Linked DNA regions of Homo sapiens: regions 1 and 2 are each linked to region 3. Evidence: promoter capture Hi-C in 16 types of primary human blood cells and fetal thymus (Javierre and others, 2016). All regions are on one chromosome and are shown on one strand. Each heading gives the region's core, a stretch centred on a gene start or on the middle of the fragment in contact. The rest is flanking DNA. Distances are from core to core; before and after follow the strand shown. Region 1 overlaps ETFRF1 (electron transfer flavoprotein regulatory factor 1). Region 2 overlaps DNAI7 (dynein axonemal intermediate chain 7). Region 3 holds the start of LINC02909 (long intergenic non-protein coding RNA 2909).

What was found. Contacts are between HindIII fragments. The CHiCAGO score rates a contact against its expected background, and 5 or more counts as called.
Region 1: a fragment that was not itself captured here is called in contact with the fragment with the promoter of LINC02909 in region 3 in 1 of 17 cell types (total B cells); the score reaches 5.9 in total B cells.
Region 2: a contact is called between a fragment that was not itself captured here and the fragment with the promoter of LINC02909 in region 3, in 1 of 17 cell types (neutrophils). The highest score is 6.9, in neutrophils.

Annotation. Positions count from the first base shown.
Region 1 is chr12:25,196,312-25,200,349 of GRCh38, reverse strand. All of the region lies in intron 1 of ETFRF1 (electron transfer flavoprotein regulatory factor 1), which reads right to left. Among named protein-coding and RNA genes, the nearest start is that of ETFRF1, 3.1 kb to the right of the region's middle. The HindIII fragment of the contact is 1,127 bases long and covers 1,902-3,028 here.
Region 2 is chr12:25,178,224-25,182,420 of GRCh38, reverse strand. All of the region lies in intron 2 of DNAI7 (dynein axonemal intermediate chain 7), which reads left to right. Among named protein-coding and RNA genes, the nearest start is that of DNAI7, 15 kb to the left of the region's middle. The HindIII fragment of the contact is 7,373 bases long and covers 1-4,197 here.
Region 3 is chr12:24,995,642-24,999,570 of GRCh38, reverse strand. It overlaps LINC02909 (long intergenic non-protein coding RNA 2909), which reads left to right and starts at 2,106. Exons shown (of 4, transcript NR_171024.1): 1 at 2,106-2,339; 2 at 3,232-3,374; 3 at 3,504-3,764. It also overlaps a transcript of IRAG2 not described here. RefSeq lists enhancers at 1,058-1,167, 1,418-1,547. The HindIII fragment of the contact is 1,157 bases long and covers 1,352-2,508 here.

The DNA of each region.
Region 1 (4,038 bases), core at 1,216-3,715, 200 kb before region 3:
ATGATTTCATTCATGATTTCCTCCCTCCTCCATTTTCTTTTTTCTCCCTTCCTGGAACTTTTATTATTTGGATGTTTGAACTTCTAAACATGTTCTCTTCCTTTTTTCTGTACTATTTTCCATTTGTCTTTTTTTTTTAAGCATGGAGTTTCGCTCTTATCACCCACGCTGGAGAGCAATGGCCTGATCTCAACTCATTGCAACCTCCGCCTCCTGGGTTCAAGTGATTCTCCTGCCTCAGCCTCCCAAGTAGCTGGAATTACAGGTGCCTGCCACTAAGCATGGCTAATTTATGTATTTTTAGTAGAGATGGCTTTTCACCATGTTGGCCAGGCTGGTCTCGAACTCCTGACCTGAGGTGATCCACTCTCCTTGGTTTCCCAAAGTGCTGGGATAACAGGTGTGTGCCTCTGCGCCCAGCCTTTTATTTAGTTGTATGGGGGATTTTCTCATTTTCTTCTTCCAAGTGTTCTACTGAGTTGTTCATTTCTGCTCTTCCTGGACAGTTAATTTTGACCACTCAGATTGCTCTCAGCATAGCTGGAGACTACTATAGAGATGTTAAAAATACTCAAAAATTATAATAGAGTAGCCTGGGAATGGGAGTAGGGGCTGGAGACCAGGAAGGAATCAAAGATGCACAAGGCAACCTTTGTGGATAGTGGATATATTTATTGTCTTGATTGTGGTGATGGCTTCATTGTGTGTGTGTGTGTGTGTGTGTGTGTGTATGTATACATATATGTATATATACAAATCTATATAATTAGTATAGATACTATATAGTATATAGTATGTAGTTTTCCCACCACTTAGCCCTGTTCTTAGACTTTTGCTGGCATTTCTATTACTTGCAAAAATATATTAAAATATATATTGACAAACAGAGGTAGCCAGCCATTTTTAGTATATAGTATACTATGGTATATATATCTACCATATACTACATAGTATGTACTATGTAGTACATATATAGTTATGTACTATATATATTACTATATACTACATAGTACAGTATGTACTATATGTACTATATGTACTATGTAGTACATACTACGTAGTATATAGTAGATATATATAGTATATAGTACATAGTAATTCCTTTTATTTTTGTTTCTATGGAAACAAAAATATGTATACTATATATTATACTATATGTAGTATATATTATAGCACATATATATCTATAAATATGCATATATAGATGTGTATATATATGAACCAAATTTATCGAATTATACTTTGTAAGTGTAATTCAGTGTCAATTCTACTTCAGCAAAACTTAAAAAAATAATAGAAATGCCAGCCAAAGTCTAAGAACAGAGCTAAGAGATGCTGAAATAACACATGGAAGTAGAAATCCATCTAAACCACAAGGCTGCCAATTCGTGGGTAGGATAGGTGACTCTACCTGTCCTCAGTCGATGGCTACACAGAACTTGGGGTATGCCTCTCTGGGGAAGGAACCCTGGAATATACACTTGAATCAATGAAAAAATCTGAAAGACACTTGCCGCCAGCATAGCAGTGAAGCCATGACCTTTTCTTAACTGAAGGTCATACATTTACTGCTTTTCTGGCTCCTCTTTCCTAGGGAAAAAAATACTTCTACATTAATACTTGTTAAATTGTACTTACTACTAGTTAATGAGCTAATTCACATAACAAGCATATTATGTAGGCATTTTTTCTTTCCAAGTTCACTGATTCTTGCTTTCTTGAAATTTTCTGTTGTTTTACTTCAAATTGCTTTTCTGCTTGCTTTTGTCTCTTATCACTTCTGAGCTGTTTTACTTCAAATTGCTTTTCTGCTTGCTTCTGTCTCTATCACTTCTGAGCTTTCTTCCAAAGTCTGGTCATTCTTTTCTGTCTACTCTTATGAATGAAAAGACAAAAAAGCTTTTTAGATCTGTATACGTGGGTGAAGCATATAGACTCTGGGCTTCACTTAGGGTGCTCTGGGTGGGCCTTTACTGGGGAACCTCTGATGTCACTATCTTGGATTGCTCCTCCTGGGCTGGTCAGTTCCTCAGAGTTGAGTCTTCCAGTCTTCTAAGGATAAGAGGAATGCGGGCCCTGCATCCAGCATTATGTATTCCTAAATTCACTTAACTTTGTTTCCAGTGTGCTTCTCTAGAATGCCTGAGGATGCCCCAGTCCAGGGACTAGTATTACTTTGTCCAGAAATAAACCTCTAGTCTTCTATGGGAGTAAGGGGGTAGAGTTACTTAGAGGTGTTTCTCAAATAGCTTTCATGTAGTCCACTTCCAATTTCAGGGTGCGTGTTTCAGTGCCTTTTGAGAATTCTGCAGAGTGAATTGGGTTTTTCTGGTGTGCTAAGTCACATTCATTCACCTGTTTTCCAGCTTCTGAGTTTTATTGCTGTTACCTCCTGTCCCCATTTTTCCAATTTATTTTTATATCATTTTACTGTAGATTTAGTAGTTTTGGAAGGGAGTAAAATTAGATGAGGGTATTTAACCCACTATATTAACTACTTCATTCTTTAAACTTCCTTTTTTTTCTTTTGGCAGAGAGCCATTAGCAGCGTGAAATAATCTTACTAAGAATGATTCTTAGGCTGGGCATGGTGGCTTGTACCTGTAATCTCAGCACTTTGGGAGGCCAGGGCTGGAGGATGGCTTGAGCTCAGGAGTTTGAGACCAGCCTGGGCAACATAGTGAGTGAGACCTTGTCTCTACTAAAAGTAAAAAAATATTAGCCAGGCATGGTGGCGTGTGCCTGTAGTCTCAGCTATTTGAGAGGCTGAGGTGGGAGGATCGCTTGAGCCCAGGAGGTTGAGGCTGTAGTGAGCCGTGATTGTTCCACCACTCCAACCTGGGCAAAATTCATTTTGAGACCCTGTCTCAAAACAAAACAAACAAAAAACACCTCTTCGGAACCATGTTCTTTTCACATAATTTAAAATTAAATATACATAGATGTAATTTCGAATTGCAAACTATAACCTGTTTAATGCCTAACAGCACAGCTTCATTTAATTCACAATTTGTAACTTGTGAAAGCTTTCAGGGACCTGGCTTAAGTTGTCCTTTTTAGTTGTTGGTCTTTTTACAAATTATGTATCATAAAACACTTGCCCAGCAAAAATGTAACTAGTGTGGCTATGGCAAATTTGTTCTTCTTTGATATGTTAACTTATATGAATTAATGCAGTTTATCTTTTTTTTTTTTTGAGACGGAGTCTTGCTCTGTTGACCCGGCTGGAGTGTAGTGGTGCGATCTTGGCTCACTGCAACCTCCCTCTCCCGGGTTCAAGCGATTCCCGTCTCAGCCTCCAGAGCAGCTGGGATTACAGGTGCTGATCACCACGCCCGGCTAATTTTTTGTATTATTTTAGTAGAGACGGGGTTTCACTGTGTTATCCAGGATGGTCTCCATCTCCAGACCTCGTGATCCACCCACTTTGGCCTCTCAAAATGCTGGGATTACAGGCGTGAGCCACCACACCAGGCAATGCAGTTTATCTTTATGCAGTTGACCTTGAAGCATTTAGGTTTACTTTAGCCACTAAGAGAAATAGGTCTCCTTGGGTTCACAATGTAGTGAATAAACAATTTTGAGTTCAGCAGGGCCCTGAGGCTGCTCCTGAACTCTGCATGAAGTCATGGAGGTTACTGTTTTAAGTAAAGAGCCAAGAGTTAAGGACTAAGAGAAGCCCCCTATTATTCTGAAAACTTGGATGTGTGCGCTGGATGAGACAGCGGTTGCAGTCCCCATTGATAGTTTTTTCCCCCTGTCATTCTAGGCTAAGGAGTTAGGACTTAACCAGTTCCAGTTCCAGGCTAATGGAAAATTGTCATTTTACTGGGGGTTATGTGGTGGCCAAAGTTGTTAATCATTGTTCCCCATGGGGTAGATACAGTGAGAGCTTCAGTAAAGCCTTTCCTCTAAAAGCCCACTATTTTAAGGTAACTTGGGATTACTGAACTATCTCCTTACCCCGATGAATCCTAACTTGAGTTGACTGAGGTGTTTTATCATTAAACATTAGTTTTACTGAAACTAATTTAAAAG
Region 2 (4,197 bases), core at 1,337-3,836, 180 kb before region 3:
TCCATGATTTTGTTGTTGTGACTAGTACTACAATAAAATACTAGTACAGGTGTCTTTTTTTTTTTTTTTTTTTGAGATGAAGTTTCGCTCTTGTTGCCCAGGCTGGAGTGCAATGGTGCGATCTCGGCTCACTGCAACCTCCGCCCCCCAGGTTCAAGTGATTCTCCTGCCTCAGCCTCCCGAGTAGCTGGGATTACAGGCATGTACCACCATGCCCGGCTAATGTTGTATTTTTAGTAGAGATGGGGTTTCTCCGTGTTGGTCAGGCTGATCTCAACCTCCCAACCTCAGGTGATCTGCCCGCCTCGGCCTCCCAAAGTGCTGGAATTACAGGCGTGAGCCACCGCGCCCAGCCTACAGGTGTCTCTTTGAAAAAAAAAAAAAAAATTTCTTTTCTTTTCAGCAGATACCCAGTAGTGGGATTGCTGGGTTGAATGGTAGGTTTATTTTAAATTCTTTAATAAATCTTCATATTGTTTTCAATAGGGGTTGAACTAATTTACATTCATACCAACAGTTCCCTTTTTTCTGCATCCTCACCAACATGTCCCTTTTTTTAATTTTTTAATAGTAGACATTCTGACTAGTGTGAGATGATATCTCACTGTGGTTTTAATTGAAATTTATCTGATTAGTGATCTTGAGCATTTGTTCATGTGTGTTGCCACTTATATGTCCTCTTTTGAGAAGTATCTGTTCATGTCCTTTCCCCACTTTTTAATGGGGCTTTTTTTTTCTTATTAAGTTCCTTATCGATTCTGGGTATTTGTCCTTTGTCAGATGCATAGTTTGAAAATATTTTCTCCTGTTTTGTAGGTTGTCTGTTGACTGTGTTGTTTCTTTTGCTATGCAGAAGCTCTTTAGTTTAATTAAGTCCCATTCATCAATTTTTGTTTTTGTTGCAATTGCTTTTAAGGTCTTAGTTATAAATTATTTGCCTAGGCCAATGCCCAGAAGAGTTTTTCCTGGTTTTCTTTTAGGGTTTTTATAGTTTGAGGTCTTGGCTGGATGCAATAGTGCACACCTGTAATCCCAACACTTTGGGAGGCTGAAGCAGAAGGATTGCTTGAGGCCGGGAGTTCAAGACCAACCTGGGAAACATAGTGAGACCCCCCCACCTCTGCAAAAAATGAAAATAAAAAATTAGCCAGATGCAGTGGCATGCATCTGTAATTCTAGCTACTCCTGAGGCTGAGGTGGGAGAATTGCGTGAGCCCAGGAGTTTGAGATTACAGTAAGCTATGATTGCACCACTGCACTCCCATTCTTTCCTGAATGACAAAGCGAGACTCTGTCTCTTAAAAAAAATTATAGGCCGGGCACGATGGCTCATGCCTATAGTCCCAGCACTTTGGGAGGCCAAGGCAGGCGGATCATCTGAGGTCAGGAGTTCGAGATCAGCCTGCCCAACATGGCGAAACCCCGTGTCTACTAAAAATACAAAAAATTAGCCGATCGTGGTGGCAGGCGCCTGTAATCCCAGCTACTCAGGAGGCTGAAGCAGGAGAATCTCTTGAACCCGGGAGGCAGAGGTTGCAGTGAGCCGAGATTGCACCACACACTCCAGCCTGGGCGACAAGAGTGAAAAAAAAAATTATAGTTTGAGGTCTTATATTTAAGTCTTTAATCCATCTTGAGTTAATTTTTATATATGTTAAGAGTTAGGGGTCCAGTTTCATTCTTCTGCAAGTGGCTAGCCAGTTTTCCTAGCATCATTTATTGAACCCAGTGTCCTTTCCCCATTGTTTGTTTATTTTTGCTAACTTTGTTGAAGATCAGTTGGTTGTAGGTGTATGGCTTTATTTCTGGGTTCTCTATTGTGTTCCATTGATCTATTTTTATACCAATACCATGTTATTTTGGTTGCTACAGCCTGTAGTATAGTTTTGAAGTTTGGTAACGTGATGGCTCCAGCTTTCTTCTTTTTGCTTAGGATTGCCTTGGCTGTGTGGGCTCTTTTTTGGTTTCATATACATTTTAGAATTGTTTTTTCTAGTTCTGTGAAAAATAACGTTGGTAATTTGATAGGAATTGCATTGAATCTGTAGATTGCTTTGGGCAGTGTGATCATTTTAGTGATACTGATTCTTCTAATCCGTGAGCATGGATTATTTTTCCATTTGTTTGTGCCATCTGTGATTTCTTTCAGCAGTGTTTTGTAGTTCTCTTTGTAGAGATATTTCACCTCCTTGGTTAAATATATTTCTAGATATTTTATTTTTGTGTGCATGACTGTTGTAAATGGGATTGAGTTCTTGATTTGCTTCTCAGCTTAAACGTTGTTGGTGTGTAGAAATGCTACTTGTTTTTGCATGTTGTATCCTGAAACTTTACTGAAGTCGTTTATCAGGTCCAGGAGGTATTTGGAGGAATCTTTACCGTTTTCTAGGCATAGGATCATGTTGTCAGTGAACAAAGATAATTTGACTTTCTCTTTTCCTATTTGGATGCCTTTTATTGCTTTCTCTTGACTGATTGGTATGGCTAGGATTTCCAGTACTATTGAATAGGAATGATGAGAGTGGACACCCTTTTCATGTTCCAGTTCTTAGGGGGAATGCTTTCAGCTTTTGCCTATTCAGTATGATGTTGGCTGTGGGTTTGTCATACATAGATGGTTCTTACTAGTTTGAGATATGTTCATTTGATACCTAGTTTTTTGAGGGTTTTTTTTTTTAATCATGAAAGGATATTGGATTTTATCAAAAGGGTTTTCTGTGTCTATTGGGATGATCATATGGTTTTTGTTTTTAATTCTGCTTATGTGGTAAATCACATTTATTGATTTGTGTATGTTGAACCATCCTTGCATGATGATAAAGACTTGATTAGCCAAGGAAATCTAATTTTAAATTTGTGTATACCTACTTACAAAGCCTTGAAATATACAATGCACAAATTCAGGGAACTACAAGGAGAAATAGACACATCCACAAATAGACACATCCACAATCATAGTGGAAGATTTTCTCTTTCAATAATTAATAGAATAATGTTTAAAAAATCAGTAAGGATTTAGAAGATTGGAGCAACATGATAAACAAACCTAATGAATTAAACATATTTAGAACACCACACCAAACAAGTAGAGGATTCTAAGCACGCAAACATTTTCCCCCAAAATTGCTAGTATACTATGATACAAAACTATTCTCAAAGTTCAGTGCATGAAAACAATTCAGAGAATGTATCATAATGAATATTATATTGAAGGTAAAAATAATTCAGTAGCAAACAGGAAGGTACAATATGCTTGGAATTTTTAAAACATTCTAAAATGGGTCAAGAAGTAATATAATGGAAATTAGAAAATATTTTAAACTTATTGTTAAGGAAAATACTTAAAAATTTGTGGAATGTATGTAAAGCAATACTTAGAGGGAAATATGTAGACCTAAATATTTATATTAGAAGAAGAAAAAAGGCTAAAAATTAATGATCCTAGGTATCCTTCTCAAGAATTCAGAAAAAGAATAAAACCCAAAGGAGAAGGAAGGAAATAATAAGAACAAATATAGAAGGAAGGAGAAGAAAGGAAATAATAAGAACAAATATGGACATTAATAGAAAACACAGAATAGAGTGGGTCAGTAACCTCATATCCTTCAAGTCTTCACTTAAATGCCGCCTTCTCCATGAGGCCAATCCAAACCACTGTATTTAGAATTGTGATTTCGTCCCTTTCACAACTACACCAGCCATCTGGAGTCCCCCTACTTTCTTCCATATCACTTATCACTCCTTAAAATATTGTATAATTTATTTTAAATTTTAGTATATTGTTTTTGCCTTCCTGTTTACATTTGAATTGTAAGTGCAAGGATTTTTGTTTACTTTTATATCTCAAATAAGAGGCACATGTTAGCCTCTCAGTATTTATTAAATAAATGAACAAGTCACAGTAGATTTCTTTGAAAACTGATAAAATTGACAATTATCTGATATGTCAAGAAGAACAAAAGGCATAAATGATAAATATTAAGAATGAAAAGGGAGACATGACTTTAACAATAAATGACATTATTTGAGCAACTTTTTATGCCAATATATTAGAAAACTTAGATGAATTAGACAAATAGCCAGAAAAAAATTAAACTGTTTTCATGAAGAAGTAGAAAACCTGAATAGTCCTATAATCATTTAAGAAATTAAATCAGTGGTTATAAATATTCCCAGAAAGAAAATTCTAGGTCCATA
Region 3 (3,929 bases), core at 857-3,356:
GAGCTAAATGTAATGTAAAATGATGTTAGAGATTATCGATACTGCTTATGTTGCTAATCTTTTTTATTCCTCCTATTGATTGAACTATGCTTCATTGCTCTGGCTTATAGATTCTGAGTCCCATTATTATTATTGCCTCAATTATCTTGTTCCATACAGTCAAAGCTCTTGAATCAACACTTTTCAACCATCTGCCCGATCCAAAACTATAAAGCAACAAGTAAAATCCTCTAACACATGGCAACATCTGTAAAACAAGTCCGATTTGATTCTTACCTAAAGTTATTCGTTATATATTTGATTTTCACCACCAGTGTAACTGCAGACTTCAACATCAACCTCTAAGACATCCATACTCTTTGGGACTTATAGAAATCTACATTTGTTCTGACTTCAATGAGTTAATCTACTACGTATGTACAATGTAGACAATATTTCTTATTCTTTAGGAATGTATATGTAAACAACATGACATAATTTGTGTTTATCAACATCTATATTATTCAATCACTAAGAAAGTTGCATTTTATTGCAAAGAATGGCATATGATGTATACAGAGGTACAAAAGCAGCATCCTGGAAAAAGCTGGCAGATTTCAGGGTGATTCAAAAGGCTCTGTAGAAATCTTTCTGAATCAAATTCTAACTCCAAACAGATTAACAATGTAATTATCTTTCCTGTTTTTTTCCTTTAAAATGTTTTCCTCCCTTTACTAAAGTTATTTATTGAGCATTGAACTTCCAAACCTTAGATCAGGCAGGCTGATTTTTAAAATCATTCAAAACTTGATTAGGAAAGCCAGTCAATCATTCATGATTCATCTATGTGAGATCCTATTGGTAATTAATGCAAAATCCTTAATATACGTAAAAAAAAAAATTTAAGTATGTGTGTAGATAGACAAGAGATTCCTTTTGCCAAAACAACCCTTCACTAATGATTAGATGCCACTAAACTCTTCATCAAAACCTAAGAAGAAACATCTGTTCACTGAGACATTCCCAGGAAACCCATCTTTAGTGAGCTCAGTGGGAGGGCAGAGCATGGTTTTCTGCTTAACCAGTGAATTTTATATCTGCCAAATTAAACTGTTTTCATTCTCTTTGTGACTACTATTTTATGTGATAAAATAATAACACTTCTTCCTGCCGTTTCTAGGATAGATGATAGCAGCTGTTAATCACATGATTTGCAAACCACAAGTACCAGATTTAGTAAATGCTCAGCAAGTCTGTCATCCGCAACCTTTCTGATTATTAATAAATGCAAGCTGGTATAGGCTAGAAACTTTCCTCCCACAATTCAGTTAACCTTGTTATATTAAGCTTCTTGGCTGGGTCACACCAAGCTTACTATAAACATCTCTTATTGGAACAATTCCTAAAATAGCAGAGTGACACATGCTTCTGAAAACTGTTCTTCTGTCTCACTTCTTGTTATATGAAGTCTGGTTTTCTTCTCAGAGAACAAGAGAAGACCTACAATAAATCTCTAGCTTCAAGAATTCAGGTGCCTCCAAGGTTCTTACAGTCTATAAAACTACATCACTGCGTTTCACTAACACACATTCCAAACGACCAAGCCTGAAAATGGCAGGATTAATTTAAATTTCCAAAAGCTCCATTGAAAACAATTTGAGATTTGCCTGTGGTGACAGCAACATATCTGGGGAATCTCACTTTATCACTCTCAGCTACCCATCTTTTTTCCCTATTTGTAGAGTGTTTTTCTTTTCAGATTTGTTTCAAGTTTTCAATGAACTCTGTTGAACCTCTAATATAGACTTATTGGAGGTTTGTCCCTTTTGCCACAAGCATTTTGAGGTTGAGACACAACAGAACAGCCTACATCTGATATTGCTTTTCCCTGGTTAGGGCGGTACTTTCTCGGCCTTCGATGACTAAAGGCCAGCATCAGCCAAAATTTAATTATTTCGTTGGGGAAAACTCACCACCTTATTTTCGCTTGACTTCGCCAGTGCTCCAAGAACCATCTGAGAACTGGGAAGAAAGAGTGGAGACCTACAGGTCAGATGACATGGGTGGAGCCCATTTCTACAGAGTGGCTTGGGCTGAGGTAAAAGAAGCTAGAGAAGAGAGCCGCTGATGCACTGCACCTGCCTAGGCTGGAGTTAAGGTACTAATCACAGCAGCAGTGCTGGGAAAGATGCCTAGGAAGGATGAGGATGACAGGCACTATTTTGGTGTGCTCCCCACCACAGCAATAACAGAAAGATAGTCCAGGTGCAGTGTCTTTCACCTGTAATCCCAGCACTTTGGGAGGCTGAGGTGGGAGGATCGCTTGAGCCCAGGAGTTCAAGACCAGCCTGGGCAACATGGTGAGACCCCCCCCCACCCCCGGTCCCCGCCCGGCTCTACAAAAAACAACACACTAAAGCTCATCCTGATTATACTTTCTAATCAGATGAAGGAAAATTATTTTTAAGTTAAATCTCATACTTTTTCTTTTGTTTTTTGGAAATGGAGTGTTGCTTTGTTGCCCAAGCTTGAGTGCAGTGGCACGATCTCAGCTCACTTCAATCTCTGCCTACTGGGCTCAAGCCACTCCCCCACCTCAGCCTGCCAAGTAACTGAAATGACAGGGGCATGCCACCACAGCCAGCTAATTTTTGTATCTTTTGTAGAGATGGGGTTTTGTTGTGTTGCCCAGGCTGGTCTCAAACTCCTGAGCTCAAGCGATCTACCTGCCTCAGTCTCCCAAGGTGCTGGGATTACAGGTGTGAGCCATTGCGCTCAGCCTGGTCATTATCATTTCTATCACCAGGTGAGAGCAAAGGGGAGTCAAATACTGGGGAATAAGAACTGGGGCTCTGAGTTTAAATAACCTGAGTTCAAACCCCAGTTCTGCTGCTTACTAGCTTTGTGATCTTGGACAAATTATTTAACCATATGTGCTTCAGTTTCTTCATCTGTAAAATTGCATCAATATCATGCAATGACCTCCGGGTGTGCTGCAGGGATTAAATGAGGTTAATACGCAGATGGCCCTCAGAACCATGTAGCACATTCTGAGCTCTCAGTAATGTTGTTATGATGCACTTTCTGAAACTCCTTTAACTTATCCAATACTAGAGGTCCTCTTAAAGCACCAAATAGCACCTAGAAAGAAATGACCAAGTAACCCGCTCCTCTCATTAGATTTGCTGTTTAATTTCCCATGAAATAACCTATTATAACATCCATGCTTGCGATCTGCTTATCAATCCACAGATACCGAAACTGGCAACACCCAGAGACATTTCCCTCCTAGTCATAAAGGAAGCCAGCAGCAGAGCCAGAAATAATATTCAAATTCTGGATCCACTAGACCATATTGCCCGTCTGACAAATTATACGCTTACATCCTGCTTCAGGTGAGTCTAGTATACCTGATGTTTCTCAGAGCAGTGAAAGGAATAACCTGAACAATAAATTCCAACGAACCTGTAATGAATTGCATTAACATGTTATTTCATTATTTATGTAATATTACCTCCTGACAGTTCTAATAAGGTACCCACAATGCCGGGTTCTCTACCCACTGGGAGCAAACAAGGGAACGTGCAGACGCTGGACAGCATACGATGGATGCCTGCAACTCCTGTACCTGCCCCCGAATGCCACCAGAAATATGCCATCTCTACTGAAACAGCTTTTCCAACCCTGAGCACGTTTATGAACACGGAAAAGAGTGTAAAGGGGTCAAATGCAGACTTTACAAAAAGAAACCCAAGATGGAGATTCCTGTTCGGGATATACTGCAGGTGGGGTTCATAACAACATAGTCCTTTACTTGCCAAGTAATCTGAAAGCAACTAATTAGAGAACCTGTAAGGGATGCCAATCCCAGTTTTCAAAATGGCATTTCAAGGAAATTAAATCTTATCATGTAAATAGGTCAAGAAATCCGTTTAAATAACGTATCTGCT